Regions from separate parts of the Homo sapiens genome. Here all the other regions are linked to region 2. Evidence: promoter capture Hi-C in 16 types of primary human blood cells and fetal thymus (Javierre and others, 2016). All regions are on one chromosome and are shown on one strand. Each heading gives the region's core, a stretch centred on a gene start or on the middle of the fragment in contact. The rest is flanking DNA. Distances are from core to core; before and after follow the strand shown.

Region 1 (2,700 bases), core at 26-2,525, 400 kb after region 2:
GTAGTCCCAGCTACTCGGGAGGCTGAGGCAGGAAAATGGTGTGAACCCAGGAGGCAGAGCTTGCAGTGAGCTGATATTGTGCCACAGCACTCCAGCCTGGGCGACAGAGCGAGACTCCATCTCAAAAAAAAAGCCTGGGTGACAGAGTGAGACTGTCTCAAACAAACAAACAAACAAACAAAAAGAATCATTGCAAACAGCTTGAAATTTTCTCAGTGTGGATTTGGCCAGGTTGTCTTATCTCTTAAATCTTAGAACTATGAAATATTTCTTTGCTTTTTAAATTTCTTTTTCTTTTCTTTTGTTTTGCTTTGCTTTGTTTTAGACACAGGATCTCACTCTGTTGACCAGGCTGGAGCACAATAGTGAGATCATTGCTCACTGCAGTGTCAAACTCCTGTGCTCAAGCGATCCTCCCACTTTAGCCTCCCCAGTAGCTGGGACTACAGGCACGCACCATGGTCCCTAGCTAGTTTTGCTTTTTTTTTTTTTTTTCATGTCATGTAGAGATGGAGTTTCACCTCCCAAAGTGCTGAGATTACAGGCATGAGCTACCATGCCCAGCCAAAATGTTTCTAAGGCTTTCAGGAGTTCCCTGAGATAAGAGAATACACGTAGAACCACAGAATCTCAGAGCTATATTAAAGAAGAGAGAACTCAGTCACAGTGAGATGAAGCAACTTAACCTAGAGAGTCCCATCTTGTGTTAGAGGTAAAACTGAGACCTAGAGTCCAGATCTTCTGATTCCCAGGTAAACATTCCTATTACCACTCACGCTAATCTTTTTCTAATGGTATAAAATGTTTCTCAATATTATAGAAGAATATTTCAAAATATTTGGGTTATGATTAAAACTCATTTGCCACTGAGTTACAACACTTAAGCACTGTTGATATACAGAATGTATTGGGATTGGGTTGGAATCGTATTTACCCTATGATGTACCCAGTCCATTCCTTTTCAAATATATCTTAAATGTCATTTGCTTTATTCATATCTCTCTCATCAAAATAAAACGACAAAAATGTAATTTCATGCTTTTTGTTAACAAGTGAAGCAATATTTTCCAGGTATATGACTTCTTCATTAAAATCCATCCTTCATTTATTTATACCCAGCTCTGCAAATATTCTCTGTTACTTTCAAGTTCCTTGTTCTTGGAATCACTTTACCCCTCATATCCTGTAGTGTATTTCTCCCTAAGATGAAGTTTGAGATGGATAGCAGCTATAGCTGGGCTTCCAGTAAAGAGTTAGAGTAGAACATGTCAGTAGCAGTGATCCATCCCACCAGCTGGCATTTACGCAAAACGGCAAAGCATTTAAGTAGGCATTGGAGTGAATCATTTGTCAAACCCCTTTTCCTGTCACTTGCCTTCCTTGAGGAGTTGTTATGCTAACTCTAAGGTATGAATAGATTAAATGCCACTAAATCTACTTCTTCAGACGTGCGCTTCTTAATCTTTTTGGAATTAGGACAGTTATTAGACATGGTTATTTGACTTAACTTTGCCTTCTCCTTATCCTCTGAAAGTACTCTAGTGAAGTTTAAAGCTACATAAATTGCATTTAAAAAAATGTTTGTAAGTGATGTGAAGGAAGAGAATCCTCATTCTTAAACTTATTAGAGGTTCCTATGACTGCTAAAAATCAGTTCTGGAAATGATTATGATGGGTCACATAGATGTAATGAATTTTTAACCTCAGTCATATACCACCATGTAGACACAACTACTTGCCACTCAGTATCCATGTTCTCCTTCCTTTGTAACAAAACTGATTTGTAGCTGGGTATTTTAACATCTAGACCAAACAAGAAGAAAGAAAGAAAATCTGCATTTCTCTTACCCTCAGCCACGTTTGGTCACACGACTGAGTTGTGGCCAATGAAATGTAAGCATTCTATGGGAATCCTTAGTACAATAAGCCCTCACGTAACATCATTGTACAGCAGGCCCTCAACTTCCTTTCCTTCACTGTCATTTTGTTATAACATTGATGAGGGACAAAGAAAAAAATGATTTTGTTATATGTTGTTTCACATAAATTTTCAGTTTCCGAGAACTTATCAATGAGATGAAGTGAGGACTTACTGTCATTTTTTCTTTTTTTTTTTTTTAGAGAAAGGGTACACTCCCTACCCTTTCTGCATTTGTCTATTTTATGCAGATTCAAGGCTGGAGCTTTAGAAGCCAAGACATTCTGAATCACAAAATGTCAGAGCAGATACTGGAGGAGATTGAGGCCCTGGAGACTTCAGTCAGTGTTTGTGTAAAGCCTGAATACCTATCTCCAGAATTCATTTATGTGAGGAAAAATAAACTTTGATCTTGCCTAAGCAACTATAATTTTGGCTTATATATGTAGCCAGAAATAATCTTAACTAATAAAACGTGAATGAGCCCCCTGGATTGATAAGAACGTACTTCAAGAAAATAATTAGTGTCTTAAGGTAGACCTGGTCTACTATAAAAATTGTTTTAGTTAACAGTTTGGTAAATGGAAAGAACTTAATAATTCCAATCTGTTTGACAGTAATTGCGTTCTGTTTTACCTGATGCTTGAAGAAATCCAGGTTATCTCATAGTCTTATTTCTAATTTGTGCCAATGAAATGAACTCGTAAGTTCATAAGATGTAAAACGAACTTTTTTTGTCCCATGTCATGAGAGCAGATAATTCTTGGCTGTCACACAAACTC
Region 2 (2,789 bases), core at 250-2,749:
AATTGAAATGATCTACTTTTATGTTTCTTTAGATGTGAACATTAATTTTTCTCTTAATCTTCTGTTAACTAATTTCTTGGTAATGTACTCAAAAGAGCTTTCAACCAGTCTTCCCATGTAAGAAGTTATCACCATACTCACTCTGTTACTTTCCCTTATACTGCACACTTTGCTCAGCAATGAATTGATCCCTGATTTACACATCAAGCTGAGCTCTCACATCCTAAATATATCTATTCTTTTGGAATTTTAGGTATTTGGCAAATATTGAAGCGTTGGGGAGATTAAAGAGAATCAAACACAACACTAGCAGACTCAACTACAATCCACAGAGGAAATAACCAAATAAGTTGCTATTTTAAACAATTTAAGCAAATAGAAGGAAGGGATTTCAGAACTCACAGTATCTATAGGCAAGAAAATAACTGAAGCAGTGATGCTTAAAAAGACTTGGTGAGGGTTAATACTTGAATCCCTATAAAATACAGTATTTTATAGTATTTGACAACACAGGTGTGAAGGTGAGCATGGATAACCAGTTTTCTTCTCTAAGCAGGCAATAAGAATGTTAAATATAAATAAGACTTCATATAATATAAAGAGTGAAAGACTGAAAGCATTGTCTTACGACTACTGTATTATTTAAAGAACTACATCTATATCAATTAAATGTGGCAGGACAGAATGTACAGTACAATACTGGGGGTGCAAGATTTTAAAATGAGGAACAGGCCAAAATCTAAACACAGAATCGTCCAAAAAAAAAAAAAAGCCTTCAAGTAGAAAAAGTTTTCAATAACAAAACATGGTAGTTAAACGCCTGCGTCTAGTAACATGAGTTGGGGAAAAAACATTAATAGCAGATTAATGAAACAGATTCTGTGCGAGGTCAGGGTAGGGAGTGATGGCGCGCGGAAGCGGCGTAAGAGCTGGTTTCGCCGTCCCAGAAAGGGTTCCACATCCACACGCCTGTACTGCGGCCCTGCGGGGAGCGTTCAGACCCCTCCGTTTCCCTTCACCATTGTAAACGCGCAATCCCATTAAGATCCCGTTCACTCCAATTCCTGGAAAGAAGCTTAGAACGGTGAATCTCTTCCTCGGAGTTGAAAATCAACTTCCAGTGCCGGTCACCCAATCCTTCAAAAATCCTAGCCCTCTCGGGCCCAATTCCTAAAGAATTCAAGCCTGCACCCTGTACACCCTGACCGATCTCAGCTCGTCCCCACTCCGCTCCCAGCGTCCCCAGCTCTAAACGCCGCCGCGTGGCTCAGCGCTGCCCAAGCCGGGCCCTGAAGGCCGCGCACAACGCCCCGCCCCCGGCGAGCGTGGCGGAAGTAGCTCGCTCGGGCTGGGAGAGCGCGCGCCACCTGGCCAAGCGCGCATGCGCCCGCACTGCCAGTGCGGGGGGCGTCCGTATCGCTTACTCCTCAGTCTCCGCAACCCCCGCCCCACCGAGAGTCGGGCTCACGCCATCTTGTACCCCCCCCATCGCCCCGTCACACAGCCGAGTCACCTTTTCCCTTTCTACACTCCACACTCTCAGTCCCCCACCCCGCCCCTTTCCAAGCGTGTCCCGGGCCGCAGCAGCAGAAACCGCACCATCTCCACCCCCACATTCTCCTCGCGGGAAGCGCAGCAGTGCCTCCAAGGGTTCTTAAAGCAGAGGTTGTAGGGCTTGCGGGGGGCGGTGCGGGGATTCGGGCGGGGGAGACGTCAGAGAGCCGGGAGGGACGCAGAGCGGAGATCCCAGCGTCGCTGGGCCCCCGCGCCGGCCACGCCCTGGCCCCGGCTCGAGGGCGGCTGCCTGGGTCTTCGTGGTCTACGCCGGAGTGTTGAAGGGAGGGCGGCTGTGGGAGGCGCTGGCCGGGCGCAGCGCCCTGGTTCCGCTGCCGAGCGTGGAGTTGCCTCTCGACTCCTCCCTTTTGGCGGGTGGGCGTGGGGTGAGGGGGGCTGGGCTGTGCTGAGAAGCGGGGTGCGCGGGTCGTCTAGGTAGTGTGGGGGCTGCCGGAGGAATCATTAAAGAGGGAAATTGTTGCTTTATGGCACGGCGAGAGAAGAGTTAGGTAGTTAGTGGGAGTGTAGCATCCAGAAAGAGGAAAAGATCCGCTGTGTTCTCTGTGGGGTGAGCTCACGTCTGTGACCCCTGGGGAAATTATTTAGCTTGTCTTTGCCTTGTTTTGGTCTGTAAAATGGCGATCTTATAGCCTATTTCAGAATTGTGAGGATTATATGAGAAAATACACGTTAAACGCTTAGAACAGCGCCAGGTGCTGCTCAGTACATATTAGCTCTGCTTTTGCTCTCCACGTTTTAGGAGTTCAGAATGACTGTGACCTTATTTTCTCAGAGAATCAGGACACTTGGTCTCACACGTGAGAGTGAAGTTATGAAGACAGTGATATGTAATATTTGACACTCAGACGATCCTGGACGTAGTATTACTGTACACGTGGATAAATTAGCATTTCTCCAAGAGGCTAATAGAAATGTTAAGTTATTTCGGTAGAAAGAAATGTGTGTGTATATATATGTATATACATATGTGTGTATATAAGTATATGTATGTGTATATATGTATGTATGTATTTGGAAGGAGAGGACCTGGGGTCTTAGTATATGTGAAGGGCAGACTCTGGAAGAGGAATTAAATTCGCCCTGCAAAGATTTACTTGAAGGACAAAACTTGGGGAATTTCTGGTGAATGTTTCAAAGAGGCTGAATTTGCCTATGAGAAACAGTTCGTGAGAGTACTTTGCAAGAATGGAATGCTCTTCATTGTGCTATGGAAA
Region 3 (2,774 bases), core at 153-2,652, 450 kb before region 2:
ATGCTCAAGTGACTGCTGTGAACCTTGAGCAGCTCACTGTTCATCTTTGAAAATAGGGAGAATACAACTACTACCCCTCCCTGGGTTACGCTAATCACATAGCACAGGGCCTGGTACAAAACAGGCCCTCAAAAATGTCAGTTTCAGCCAGGCGTAGTGGCTCATGCCTATAATTCCAGCATGTTGAGAAGCCAAGGTGGCTTGAGCCCAGGAATTCGAGACCAGCCTAGACAACCTGGAGAAATCCCATCTCTACTAAAAGTAGAAAAATTAGCTGGGCATAGTGGCACAGGCCTGTAGTCCCAGCTACTTGGGAGGCTGAAGTGGGTGGATGGTTTGAGTCTGGGTGATCAAGGCTGCAGTAATCAGAGATCTTGCTACTGCACTCCAGACTGGGAAACAGAGCGAGACCCTGTCTCAAAAAAACAAAACAAAAAACAAACAAACAAAAACTGTCAGTTTCCTCTCTTTATGTTTAGTTTTAAACCCATCCAAAATTTGGAACATTAATATCATTTGTTGATCAGGTTGTCTTTCTTCTCATTTCATGTGATGTATCACGAATTCCGACTAAATTTAAAGCAATTCATTCTCGGCCATATCAAAGGATTTGTCACAACTTAGCGAGGTAGAAAATGTCAAGTTTAAAACATGTGGCAGGAAGATGTGACTTCATGGACACACACAATCAATGGTCCAAGTAGGTGAGTGTTTGTGGTTGTGGGGTGAGGGGTACTGGGAAGGGTTTTACTTTCAGTTCCCTGAATACCTGTTTCCCACTCACCACACTGAGAGGTCACCCTTAGAGTCACTCCTTTGCACCTGGAAGAATTGTGGATCTCCCTGGTTCCCTGTGAAAAAGTCTAAGTGTCCCCAGGCATAGAAAAAGCAGCTGTACAGCTTAGAGAACAGTATACTGGGACTAGACCACTGGAGAACGGCCTGGGAACAGATAGGGGAGGAGAAAGAGGGAGGAAAACAGAGAAGCACTGAAGGAGAAGGCACCAGGGACAAGGGACAATTCCCCCAGATCCACGGCTTTCTTCTGCTTGTTATAACCCATGAGAAGCAGAACATCCTCCCAAAGACACTGCATCATTGGCACACAGTATATGCTAGGTTGGCACTCTACTAATGCTTCACGGCATTTGCACATTTAATTATCACAACAATCCCATCAGGTTGTCACTATTATTCTTCCCATTTTACAGCTTAAGAAACTGAGACACAGAGAGGCTAAGTGTCATATCCAAGTCACAGGGCTGTGTGATAGAGCCTGGAAATGAGCCCAAGAAGCTTGACTCCAATGTCAAACTCTGCACCACCACATTAGAAACACACTCCCCACGCAGAAACACACACACACACACACACACACACACACACACACACACTGTGGGAGGACTCTCAGGGAACTCCTGCTTTCACAGACTGCTAGGTGCCAAGTTCTGCTTTTTAGAGCCAGTGAGATAAGGAGAACTTGCTCTATTTCATGTAAGAAAGCTTATCTGTTACTAACATAGTAGATTTATCCTCTGTCAATCCAGAAGAAAGAACTAGACCTGAAGGGTGGAGCTTGTAGGAAGAAGACAGTAGTTCAACATAAGCAGTATAAAAAGAAGGGCTGCTGTGATAGGTAATGAGCTACCAGTCAGTGGACGTGTTTTTGGTTTGGCAGCTGCAGTCTAGGAATGAGCAGATGGTCTACATCCTGGGGACGAGATTGGAAGAGATGAGAACCAAAGCCCCTCCCAGCCCAGGCAGTCAATCTGAACACACTTCTCCAGACCTGCTGTTGCAAAGCAGTGTGCCGAATCAACAGGAGATGCATGTTAAATAAAACCCGACCCAGCCTCTCAAAAGTTTACAGTGAGATTCTCAGGTTTTCCAATATCATCTTCATAGAGTTCCTGGAGGAATTTAAGAAAGTACAGTGAAGATTCATTCCTTTCATCTCCTAAGGGTAAGTCCGTTCTGACCTGCCCAATAACCCTTTCTCTTCTCTGTCTGCTTCCGGAGAGCACTGTGAGAAGTCAGTCTTCTTTAAAAAAAAAAAAAAAAAAAAGTAAGAAAGAAAAAAAGAAAGACACATATATGATATGTTCTACATCTTTGCCTCTGAAGAGGAAATGCTCTGTGTTACTGTAAATAATAATTTGCAGGTCAGTGAAGGTTGTTAAATGCCCCTGATACCTTTTCTCACTTCCCTCCAGACTCTCGTAATTACTATTGCTCTGAACCCAGCGGGCAAGATGCACATTTCTCTGTCCAGGAAATGACAGCAGCAGTGTGGTACCCTCTTCTCACTTCGGGGAAAGACTGTGTATCTGCATATTGAGCCTGTCCAGAGTCCGTGTCAGAGCCGGGTATGTGCCTGCCTGGAAATAGCTGCATGGAAATGCAGGAAGTGGTTGCCCAAAAGACCTGAGGCTGCAGGTCATAGCCCCTGGGTTCTAAAGCTGGCTCTACCACAAGCTGCGTGACCTCAGACAAGTCACAAAATCTTCTGGGACTCTGTTTCTTCATCCGTAAAGCCAAGAACACAGCACTTACCATGACTCATAAATACTAATATATAATGAGAACTCATTCTTTTATTCAATATCTCATTCAAACACATATGAATCATCACTAAGGACCAGGCACTGTTTTAGTCCCCGGGGGTGCAGTAGTAAACAAAACAGCGAAAGTCTCCCTCTCCCTGGAGTTCCACTGGGAGAAGCAGATAAATAAATGAATAAACAAAACATATGGGATTTCTAAGGGCTTTGGCA
Region 4 (2,700 bases), core at 32-2,531, 340 kb before region 2:
CTATTTAAATTTAAATTAATTACAATTAAATACAATTCAAAATTCAGTTCCTCAGTCACCCTAGCCACATTTCAAGGACTCAGAAGTCACATGTGGCTGGTGGCTACATATTAGACAGTGCAGACATGGCTCATTTCCACCATTGTGGAAATTTCTACTGGGCAGACTGCTGTAGATGCACTTGACTCTAATAGGGAAGGCCCCAGCCCTGTGACTGGGGAAGACATGAAGGTGCTTCTCATGGTATCAGGCTCCCTGCCTGGACTTATGGTCTATGGATCACCAATGACCTGGGGCCAGACCATTTCTGACCCCATTCCCTGGGGTCAGTTGCAACTGCAGTAAGTCCACCCAGGTCAGAGAAGGAGATCTTGCAAGAGAAACAATCAGAAGGATCACCTTCTCCTTAGACAAGCCCTGTGGTTTCCATGACCAGAAACCACGTTCAAGGTTCAATCACTCTGAATATACATGTCACTCTGTCACATGAGAAAGAGCACTAAAGGGGAGTCGGGAGAGGTGGGGTTCCAGCATAAGTGTTGCCTTTTACCAGCTGTGTGCCTCCAGCAAGGCCCCCCTCTCTGGCCCTCAATCCCACACTAGGTAAACAACCCAATCTTCTGGAGTCCTAAAATTCCACACTGACCCCATCATCATTTCATTCCTCTCTCTCTGGTGTCTTATCTTTCTTGGATGTGTGTGCATTTACAGAATGTTTCATCTTAATCAAGGAAATAATAGAGAAGGGAGGGGAAATTGCCTTGGCGACTCCAAAGTGTGTGTTAACATAGAGAAAGAGCTCTGAAAACCTTCTAGGGCAGCAGAGGCTGTAAGGGTGCTGTTTTCCATGCAAGAATCCAGTAGAGGGGGATGTTGCATAGAGGCGAATTCCTAACAGCCTTTGCCTTCAGCTTGTCATTGTTAGTGCCCAAGCTCAGAGGGGAGGAAATGTCTTTTTCGTCCTTGCGGGACCTCACATCTACTCTCTGTGTACCAGGACTCAATAAGTCTCTAAAAGCCTCTGGATGGACACAGGAAAGCCGCTGGTGTTCTTTCTGTGCATTTAACCCTAATGAATTTTCCCTTCCCATTTCCAAATTACAAAATCAAAGCTATTTTCTCAGGTGCCATATTTAGCAGCTGTCAGAAGTTGGAATCTGGCAAGATCAACAACTTTTGAATAGCTCAAAATTCGCTAAAGTCCCAGATGGGTTTTCCCCTTCTCTGCCCTCCCGCTCCCTTCTCAGAGCCAGCTTTCAGAGTCCACCTCGGGCGCCTGAGACCCAAGCAGTGTGCCTCTTTCAGTAAAGCATGGTTTTAAGGAAATAAAAACACATTTCCCTTTCACATGCCTCATTGCCTTATTTTCCCTCTCATTTTGACAAAATGGGGCTCTGCAGTCCTCCTCCTCAGATGAAGGCTGATTAGCAGCCACGGTCACTAATCTCTCACCATCTTCTTCTAAAAATGAGACTCACCCAGCCTCAGCACAACAACTAAGAGCAAAAGGTTCATCGGAATTTCCAACTCCTGTGATTTCTCCCTTTGGTTCTTCAGAGATAACGGTGAGAGTGAAAGATGTAGAGATGAGAGTAAGACACGCAGAGAAGCCCTGGCTATGAGCGCCCATAGTGGGCGTGGGGCAGCAGCCCTTGAAACTTCACAGTGAGATTCCACAGAAGGGATCTTTCCCTTGTAAATGTCCCACTTACGGCTTAAAGTTCAAGAAGGTAGGCCTGGATCCAGCCTCACCAGCCTGACCCTATGCCAGGCTTTCTGCAGCACTGGGAGGGAAGGGTGGAGAATGCTGAAGACAGAGATCTCCGGCAGTCACACCTTTCATGGAAAACAGAGACACCTGTCTTGATAGGTGAAGCTGTGGATGGTGGCTCAGCTGCTGTCTCAAAGAAAATGTCTGTGATAGGTGGAGGGAGATTTTGTTCCCCAAGGTTGGTTCTCCAAGCTGAATAGACAAAGGTGCAAGAAACAGGGAAATTCTCAAGCAAAATAAGTTGTATTTGCCGGAAAGTCTATCTGAGTGAGAATTCTCAAAATATTTTCTAAAGCTCCGAACTGTTTGGAGAACGTAGCCACAGTATATACAGAAATAAATGCCCCATTTTCATTAGAAGAGCCTGTGTGTATAAAGGGACGCATCCAGGCTTTGGGGCCAGACATTGGTTCAAATCCCAACCCTGTCACCTTCTACTCAGATAACCTCAGACAAGTCACCTAGAACCACTGAACCTCCGTTTTCTCATCTCTAAAATGTAATGGCACCTACTTTTACAGACTTATTGCAAGGAATAAATAAGATAATCTATGTAAAAGCACTCAGGGACCAGGTGAGGTGGCTCACCCCTATAATCCCAGCACTTTGGGTGGCCAAGGTGGGCAGATTACCTGAGGTCAGGAGTTCAAGACCAGCCTGGCTAACATTATGAAACCCCGTCTTTACTAAAAATACAAAAATTAGCCGGGCATGATGGCGGGTGCCTGTGATCCCAGCTACTCGGGAGGCTGAGGTGGAAGAATCACTTGAACCTGGGAGGCGGAGGTTGCAGTGAGCCGAGATCGCGCCACTGCACTCCAGCCTGGGTGACAGAACGAGACTCCATCTCAGAAAAAAAAGCAAGCACTCAGCACCATGCCTGGCATATAGTCAGCACTCGCCAGATGTTAACTGCTATCATTACATTG
Region 5 (2,700 bases), core at 129-2,628, 380 kb after region 2:
GGGTACTAAAGTCAATAAAATATCTGGAGATGCAGGGTAGAAAAAGCTTGGGTACTTATGCAGTCTGTACACTTCTTCTTTATAGTTATGTATTACATACTGGTAACCAGGATAATAAAATATCAGAAGTTGATAAAACTAGTTACAGTGAAAATCTTCATATGTACAAATAAACATGAGACTGGCAACTTCGTTAAGCTTTGTATCATAACAAAAATCTTCTCTGGCCAACATAACAGAGTAGCTTTTATATTCTACTCATCCAAATAACAGTTTAACTGAAAAAAATATGCTGGGCTTGTAGACATAACTTAACTGTAGACAGTAGAAAGTGGAACTGTTAAGAGCATAGGCCTTGCCTGCTTCTAATTTGATAGGTTATAGTTTCAAGAGTTAACCACAACTGTGGCAGTTCATATGAAACCACTTTGGACTCAGAGACTGCAATCTCTTGCTTTTAAAGTTCAGTAGAATAATCAGTCCTGGCATCATTCAATGACTTAACTTTCCTCCAAGCATCACTTATGGTTGCAGAAACTTTGTTTACTACCTTCTCCCCTAGCATGTATGAAAATGGTATAGACCTACCAACAGGCTTAATTTTAGTTTTCTTTCTTCTTTATAGATATAAAAACTCACTTGGTATTCTAGCTTCTTCTCAAAACATTGAGCAAACATACAAAAAACAGCCTGAGTTCTTTCCTATTGTTTTCAGCTGATGTATGTGTGCTTGGCTTTAGTTTCATCCATAATTTACTTCATTACTATTAGTTTATGTGACTTGAAATATAAAAAAATCTGAATTTTTACATCCATTTTGCCTTACTAGTTCATCATCGTGATAGTTAGCTAACTCTTACACATTTATTTTTCTCTAGCACCAGATTCTAGCACTTGGGCATACCTATAGTAGAGATCCATGATCTCAGAACATCCTTTTAAATGATCAAATAAAGATTAAATAATGCTCAGAGTTGCTTTAGTGTATTTGAGGGACTGAGAAAGAAGAGCAGGGAAATACATACAACTATAGCTTCCCTCCAACCCCACCCACCTCCATCCTAAAATAAGGCAGGTGTGTCTAAGTGTAGCTAATGTTTCTTTCATTCTAATTTTTTCATCTAATCAAATATTGTCAACCAAAGACCAAAATACAGTCACTGAAAGCTTCAAATAGCTTTGAGTTTTCTTGTCAGTGAGGAACTGTGGTCACCCACAGAAGAGCTGTGCCTAAGAACCTGCTTTGCTGCTTGTAGAGGAACCTGAGAAGCTCAAGTTTGTCAATAATCAAGTAAACTATCTAGTCTTGTAAGCCCCTAAGTTTGTAAAGAGATGTAAACAATGGGTGCTTAAAAAGTTGAGAGAACTCTACCTTCAGAGTAATCCTCAAATTGATAAAAGTAAACAAGAGAGCAAGGATTAGAGCTTACCAGAGAGAGCAGCTTTTAAACAGTTTGGGGTGCAGAAAATCCCTAGTGACTTTTTATCTTGTGTTTTCATATCAGAGGCTTAATAGTGGAATCTAGAGAGAAAGCAGAGTGATATACATAACATTTAAGGCAGCTTAAAATTTGTTGATAATAAGCTTTAAATTAAATAAGGTGCCAGGTAGTCATCTGAATTTGCTTAACCTGAAATGAACTGACCATAGATTTGAAAACATATAGTTTCTCATAAAGACTGAATAATAAGAGAAATCAGATATATCATTCAGTTGTGCCCAAGTGTGGCATGGTTATGATGCCTGGAGATTTTGAGTCCCAGGGTTATGGTTTTTGGAGGTAAGTGGACTAGAAAACTCATTGAAGAAGAAATAGGTGGATGCCTGTAGAAGTTGTCCATCTCCTGTTTTTGAAGTCTTTCTACCATTCCCATTTCTACCTATCATGATTTATTTCAGTTATAAGGAAAAGGAAAATAAAATGTCTGTAAAGCTAACAGTCCAAAAATATCTTACATAATACTTAACATAAAAGAAAAAGGCTAATCCCAGTAAGATAAACATTCACAAATACCAGAAAAGTTTAAAAAGTTGAGTTAAAAACTGAAACTCTTAAATATGTTATAATATATGGGACTGTGAAATAAAGATAGAATTATATACTACAAAGATATATGTAGTTTACATATGTACATAATAAATACATGTATGTATATATCTGTGTATATACATTTATATGTGTATATACATTTACATATGCAAATTCATGTACATACATGTATACACTATGCCCATATATACATATATAGAAATAGAAATGTAATTTTTCTAGATTATTTAAAAGGTAAAAGTTAAAGAACAATCAGAGGTATATCATACAAACCCTGTAATACTGGGGGTTACAGTATTAATTTCAGAGAAAAGAGAATTTAAGGAGAGAAGCTTTAAAATGGAATAAAGGCAATAATTTTATGTTACTAAAAGATACACCTATAGTGAAAATATAGTAGGTGCAAACTGTTAATCATCAAATTCCAGAGCATTGAAAGCTTCTAGTATGTGGAGAGAGGTCAGAGAAAAACATTTGTTGTGGAGACTAGAACACACCATCCCCATCTTTGACTGATTAATTCAAGGGAAAAAAAAGACTTTAATAAATATCTAAGTTTATCTAATAGATGCATATATAATGTTTTATAAATGAGCAATAGTCTTAAAATCGTACAACTCCAAGGATTCCATGGGTCTCTTCAGGGAAG
Region 6 (2,700 bases), core at 196-2,695, 290 kb after region 2:
TTCTGATATGGATAAACAAAAAGCTAAATTGTGTATACTTGCTACTATATTTTCCATTCATATGATATTTTGAAGTCCATATCTCAATGTACTGAATTCTACTTTCCTTCAGATGAATACATCTTATTCTGGTAAAGAAAGATATCAAATTTACAAAGTTAGTGTAATTGTTATATATTATTTTGTTTTAGCTTCAACTACTTATGCTTACTACCTGTAAACAATAGTTCAGTATGGGTATAAATTAAATTCCATATCACAGAGAATAAATGAATTTAAAATCATATAACAATCAAATCTACCATGACAGCTGTCAGTATTGATCTGAGTGAGAAACTGATAGAAATACTGAGTTGTTAGTACATTTATATGTACTAACTTGGTATATTCTCATTTGGTAATCACTGTTCTAGATGTGACTCCCCTGATCCCTGATTACTTTTGCAAAACCCACAGGGTTCGTGAGCCATGAGTTGGTAAATGCTTGTAGACTGGAATGTTTTTGGAGACAAACATTGCTGGATTTGAATCTTGGCTTCATAACTTGCCAGTTATACAGTCTTGAGCATATTCCTTAATCCAAGTCCTCATTTAGTCATCTCTTGGAATTTACCTACATCATAGGCATTATATAAGATAATGTGTGTAAATGACCTAACACTGGTCTACATTATTTGCCAATGGGAACAGGATTAATGGCAGCCAAAAAATTTTTTGACATTTGGAGTAACAGAGTGTCAAAGGCAAAGACACTAAGAGGCAGAAAGAGCGCTCGAAGATTCATAGCATGCAGTATTTCTGAGGCCACCCTTCTGCTTTAGCATGTCATGCCTTATACAGTTTTGTCACTATTTCTCCTACCTCTACTTTTTATTGCCAATATTCTTAGATACCTCAACATTCTTAAAACCCAGTTTAGATAATTTATTAAACATGAGTTTCCTTGTTCCTTTCTTGTCAGTTCCCGTCTGATTTTATGTCCCTGAGAAGAAACCTGCAGACGCAGAATGATCTAAATTTAATTCATTTCAATCCTGGAGACTTAGGAAGCTTTTCCATTAATTTTATGCCTTCTCGTTTTATCTCTATAATTGGAATAGAACTTAACTATCATTGAAATAAGAAACAGCATTGACTGAAAGCACTTATTTTTATCCAGCAAATCCTTGAATATTCTCCTAAATGATCTTCGAGTCCTAAGATATTGTATTTTAGTGGCGACTTCTATGTTTAGTTTTGTTTCTTTTTCAAACTTGATGGTTTTCAGAATATTGTGTGAAGAAATTTCCCAACATTCTTGAAAAATACATGATTTCATAAGTACATAGTAATGTGGAGTTTGAGGGAGGTGAAACAGAGAAATGGATAAATAGGTAGATGAAACAGAGAGCTCAAGCCCCCAAACTTGACCAGTGTGCTAAAATGAGTATAGATTTCTTATATTATTATTATTAGGTGTAAATTAAGTAATACTATGAATGTGTTTGTAAATTGTAAAGTGCCTTTTCATAAAACTAGGGACACTGTTTTGATGTTGACATTTCCTTTTATTATTATTGCTAATAATAATCTTTTTAAAACTTGTGTTTTAAAAGCATTTACCCTCAAAAGTCTATAGAGAAAACTCTTTATCTGAAATATTGGTAAAGTTATTAGATGATATTTTTAGTATAAATGATAGCATTTATACTTTAGAAAAATTCTAGGTACTAAAATTTTAAGAGAAGCAATTGTACTTCCTAAGTTCGTGTGCCCTTTCCTTGTGAATTGACCCTTTAAACATTTTAACTTTTAATAACTTGAAATTTATGTGGGAAACTTCTGTTTGGGGAAAAGCTTAAAATTCAGTATCATTTATTAATCATCCAGCATTATTATTTTGAAAAATAACCAACGAAAATAATGCAGTATAGTAGTTCTGCACTTTAACACTTCAAAATATGTATTCCTAAAAGTAGAATTTTCTTCAAAATATATATTCTTAAAAGTAAAAATTTGCTATGCTTTATGTAGCCAAGGTTACAAAAGACTTGTAACTTCTAATAATTAGCTTAATCTGATTTTAAACTCTTGATGGTTTTGGAACAGAAATTTTTGTTTGAAAGAAAGATTGGCTTGTTAACCGAATTATGTAATTATAAGTAAATGTGGTCACAGCTGCTTTTGATTTTATTGTTATACACCTGATTGGAAACAACAGGTTTTTAAAAATATTTTTCCGTTTCTTACACTGACACCTAGTGTTCACTATTACTGATATCTTAAATATTAAATTTTATTTATTAATAATTATGGAAATAGATTTACGTTCAACATATTTTAGCCGTGTACCTATTCACAGATAAATAACTCTCATTTTCAGTACCAGTGATGCACAGTTTTTCTGGTTACTCCTGTGACATCATTATGAACCAATTGCTGAGGCCATTTTGAATGCAACAAAACTCTAAGAAGCCTAGAGTTTTAGAGATGGAAGAATTGCTGGAGGGAGTTTTTAAAACCAAGATTCTTAAAATCCCAGTGCTTTGTTATGTACATAAGTACTTCAAGCTACGTGTCTAAGTGGCTGATTTAGTTTATGTATGCTTAGTCTCTGTGTCATAGAACAAAATCACATTTAGTCATGCAAGCATTATAAATTTAAAATTCTTGGTTGACCAGGAATGGAGCATGATTGAGTTATTTCTAATTTTCAAAAAG
Region 7 (2,700 bases), core at 48-2,547, 430 kb after region 2:
ATAAGCAAATTCCTAGACTATATGCTTAAAACAGACCTACTGAATTAGAATCTCTGGACTTAAAGCCCAGAAATTTGCACTAGTGACTGTGAAATAAATTTTGAGAACTACTCTCCTAAAAAGTCAGAATATATCATGACTAGGTCCATTCACCAGTCAATGAAAGTGTGTGCTCATGTCTACAATATAGATTTTTAGGCAAGCAGGATTATCAGTAACATTCAGAATGTATTGCTTTTAGGTTTGCCACTTCAGTGGCATTCATGATTATTTCTAGCTATGTGACTTTCATTCTTCTGGTCTTCTAGTTAGTGGATCTGGCTCTTCTTGTGAGGCAAGACATGGTAACCAAGGCAGGGGACCCCTTCAGCCATGCCATTTCTGCAACCTTCATTCAGTATCACAACTCTGCTGAGGTAAGTACAAAAAAAATCTGTCTTAAAACATTTGTGAATTTTGACACATATCTGGTATTTACATTAGTGATTCTTTAATAAAGATTATGCAGGAGTGTATAACCTTCAGTCAAAGAATCTTAATACATTAGACATTCAAATAAGTATTTAATTGAGCACCTACTGTGTGCCAGGCCCTGACAGTCCACTTAAGACAATGACTTTTTTCACGTTTTTCTTGCTTCACTTAGCTTTCCTACCCCTTCATTGAAAGGGATAGTTGCAAGGCATTTCTTATTTTTATGGGAGATGAAAAACTGGTTTAGGTAATGTTGGAAAAGTCATTTATTTCTTTGTGCTTCAAAAGATAAGAGGGTTATCATTATTATTCACAAAATAATCCCTGGCATTTATTGATAACTTTCCATTTCAGTTATTGATTCATCTCTAAAAATGATTTAAAGAAGCTTGTCTTCATTCATCTTGAGTTTTTAGATTGCCCCTACTATGTGAAAATTATATTCTTTTCTGATCTGGCTTTGCTATGGGAACCGTAAAGTTTTCTTTCCAATTTTAAGGCTCTGTATAATAACTGTGCACCACTTTTAGTATACAGAATCTCCTCTGTAAACAGCATCTACCTCAAAACCAGAAATGTATTGCAGTGTCTTGAATGTATTTGCCAATATTCGACCCTTTTCACTAACAAAAACAGCAGTTTCACGTAATTCAATCGAATATCCATAGATAAGACAGCAAGAAGGTTAAGTTCGCATCTACATGTAGAGTTGTGAAGTACGTTTTGGATCAAGTTGGTTGAAATATATAACCTGAAAATGGCTAAGCTCTGTTTTATAGCCATACCTTGATTACACATTTCTACTCCTTGTTAAATATCTATAGGCAAGGATAGTGGTTCAAATCATTTCTAAGAAGTAGTTGTAATCTTCTTTAGGTCACACACCCCTTTGAGAATCTGATGAAAACTATAAACCCTTTTTCTATAAACACATTCACAAATTTTGCCTACAGTTTCAGATTGTTCAGAGACATTCTGAAGCCATTCTATGGATCCAAGGGATCTGTGAACCCTATGGACCCTAGGTTTAAATTTCTCTGCTCTAGGATACATAGAAAATATGTTAACATATATGCCCATATAGCATCTTATTACAAACAAAAGGACAATTCAACATTTTCTTATGCCCCTTGGAAAATCAAATTGGCTTGGAAACCAAATAGGGATTAAAATGTTTATGCCCATTAAAAATCCATTTTTTTCTTAGAAAAGGTCATACATCATTATCAGTCAACATACAAAAGTCCCTAAAGCTTACTTAGTTGATTAATCACTATTTGTTTTCTTTATGTTACAAACCCAAATTATGATGTCAAAAAACCCCCTTTAAAATGTCTTTGATGTTTGTTCACTTTATGAATATGTGTATAAGTATGCTTTCCATTAACATCAGACAAATTTGTTATAACATTTCTAATTGAGAAAATTTACTGTGAACACAACGGGCCTAGTTTTCTTTTAACATTCAAGTGATTGCTTGCATGCCTAGGAAAACTCTTTATTTCCCCTCTTTTCTTGGTTCTCCAGGGTGGCCAAGCTGCCCTAGGCAACTGCTCAGCAACCGCAGCCGCTGTTCCCAGCTACCCAGCAGTTGAGAGGAATATCCTATATGTGCTGGATTTCCTGGGCTCTCTGGGAGGTGGGAGCATGAGTGTCAGAGAGCCTCCTGACAAAATATGTTAGTATAAGCCTCAAACTTTTTTCTGGCTGGCAGACACCCCTCCCCTCCTGTGACTGGTAGTCAAGATGAATATTCAGAGACTGGAAGTCTTCCTTCCTGCCCTTTATCACTTGACAAAATCAGCAGCTAACATCAAGGGCCTGTACATCAAATACTATACCAAATTGAGTCCAAAGTGGGACTCTGGAGACTGATGTGATCTCTGTTCAGGGAGACAGGATATTTTGTAAAACAAATAAGCAAATAATTGAACAAACAGTTTAAGATGGCATATACTGGTTTCCAAATGAGTGACTCAGACAGAAAATACAGAAGTTTAAAAAAAAAAAAAAAAACCTTCTCTAGTTGCAGTCAAAGACTTTAGAGAGAAAGCTAAGGTTAAAAGAAAAATAGGACTATGATAAGGTAGAAGTTAGGATAATACTCTAGGACTCAAAGACAGCATAAGTACCATTTTAGAAGGAGAAAAACCCAACGCTGTTTAAAATATTCAAGGATTAAGGTTCATTAAAGAGGAATAGTAGGCATTTGGATTAGAAAATTAA

What was found. Contacts are between HindIII fragments. The CHiCAGO score rates a contact against its expected background, and 5 or more counts as called.
Region 1: a contact is called between a fragment that was not itself captured here and the fragment with the promoter of SUPT3H in region 2, in 4 of 17 cell types (naive CD4 T cells, total CD4 T cells, non-activated CD4 T cells and 1 more). The highest score is 9.8, in naive CD4 T cells.
Region 3: a fragment that was not itself captured here is called in contact with the fragment with the promoter of SUPT3H in region 2 in 1 of 17 cell types (total B cells); the score reaches 6.2 in total B cells.
Region 4: a contact is called between a fragment that was not itself captured here and the fragment with the promoter of SUPT3H in region 2, in 1 of 17 cell types (M0 macrophages). The highest score is 5.1, in M0 macrophages.
Region 5: a contact is called between a fragment that was not itself captured here and the fragment with the promoter of SUPT3H in region 2, in 3 of 17 cell types (naive CD8 T cells, total CD8 T cells and naive CD4 T cells). The highest score is 5.8, in naive CD8 T cells.
Region 6: a contact is called between a fragment that was not itself captured here and the fragment with the promoter of SUPT3H in region 2, in 1 of 17 cell types (endothelial precursors). The highest score is 5.7, in endothelial precursors.
Region 7: a contact is called between a fragment that was not itself captured here and the fragment with the promoter of SUPT3H in region 2, in 2 of 17 cell types (total CD4 T cells and activated CD4 T cells). The highest score is 5.7, in total CD4 T cells.

The regions. Positions count from the first base shown.
Region 1 is chr6:44,979,665-44,982,364 of GRCh38, reverse strand. All of the region lies in intron 6 of SUPT3H (SPT3 homolog, SAGA and STAGA complex component), which reads left to right. Among named protein-coding and RNA genes, the nearest start is that of MIR586, 220 kb to the left of the region's middle. The HindIII fragment of the contact is 7,750 bases long and covers 1-2,700 here.
Region 2 is chr6:45,376,644-45,379,432 of GRCh38, reverse strand. It overlaps SUPT3H (SPT3 homolog, SAGA and STAGA complex component), which reads left to right and starts at 1,499. Exons shown (of 11, transcript NM_003599.4): 1 at 1,499-1,665. All of the region lies in intron 2 of RUNX2 (RUNX family transcription factor 2), which reads right to left. RefSeq lists silencers at 1,208-1,257, 1,578-1,857 and an enhancer at 1,024-1,567. The HindIII fragment of the contact is 7,128 bases long and covers 1,078-2,789 here.
Region 3 is chr6:45,830,236-45,833,009 of GRCh38, reverse strand. No RefSeq gene overlaps it. Among named protein-coding and RNA genes, the nearest start is that of CLIC5, 180 kb to the left of the region's middle. The HindIII fragment of the contact is 207 bases long and covers 1,299-1,505 here.
Region 4 is chr6:45,713,083-45,715,782 of GRCh38, reverse strand. No RefSeq gene overlaps it. Among named protein-coding and RNA genes, the nearest start is that of RUNX2-AS1, 140 kb to the right of the region's middle. RefSeq lists a silencer at 757-1,051. The HindIII fragment of the contact is 6,734 bases long and covers 1-2,700 here.
Region 5 is chr6:44,999,549-45,002,248 of GRCh38, reverse strand. The region is part of intron 6 of SUPT3H (SPT3 homolog, SAGA and STAGA complex component); the gene reads left to right. Among named protein-coding and RNA genes, the nearest start is that of MIR586, 200 kb to the left of the region's middle. The HindIII fragment of the contact is 418 bases long and covers 1,170-1,587 here.
Region 6 is chr6:45,086,415-45,089,114 of GRCh38, reverse strand. All of the region lies in intron 3 of SUPT3H (SPT3 homolog, SAGA and STAGA complex component), which reads left to right. Among named protein-coding and RNA genes, the nearest start is that of MIR586, 110 kb to the left of the region's middle. The HindIII fragment of the contact is 786 bases long and covers 1,053-1,838 here.
Region 7 is chr6:44,951,026-44,953,725 of GRCh38, reverse strand. SUPT3H (SPT3 homolog, SAGA and STAGA complex component) reads left to right here. Exons shown (of 11, transcript NM_003599.4): 9 at 309-416. Among named protein-coding and RNA genes, the nearest start is that of MIR586, 250 kb to the left of the region's middle. The HindIII fragment of the contact is 865 bases long and covers 865-1,729 here.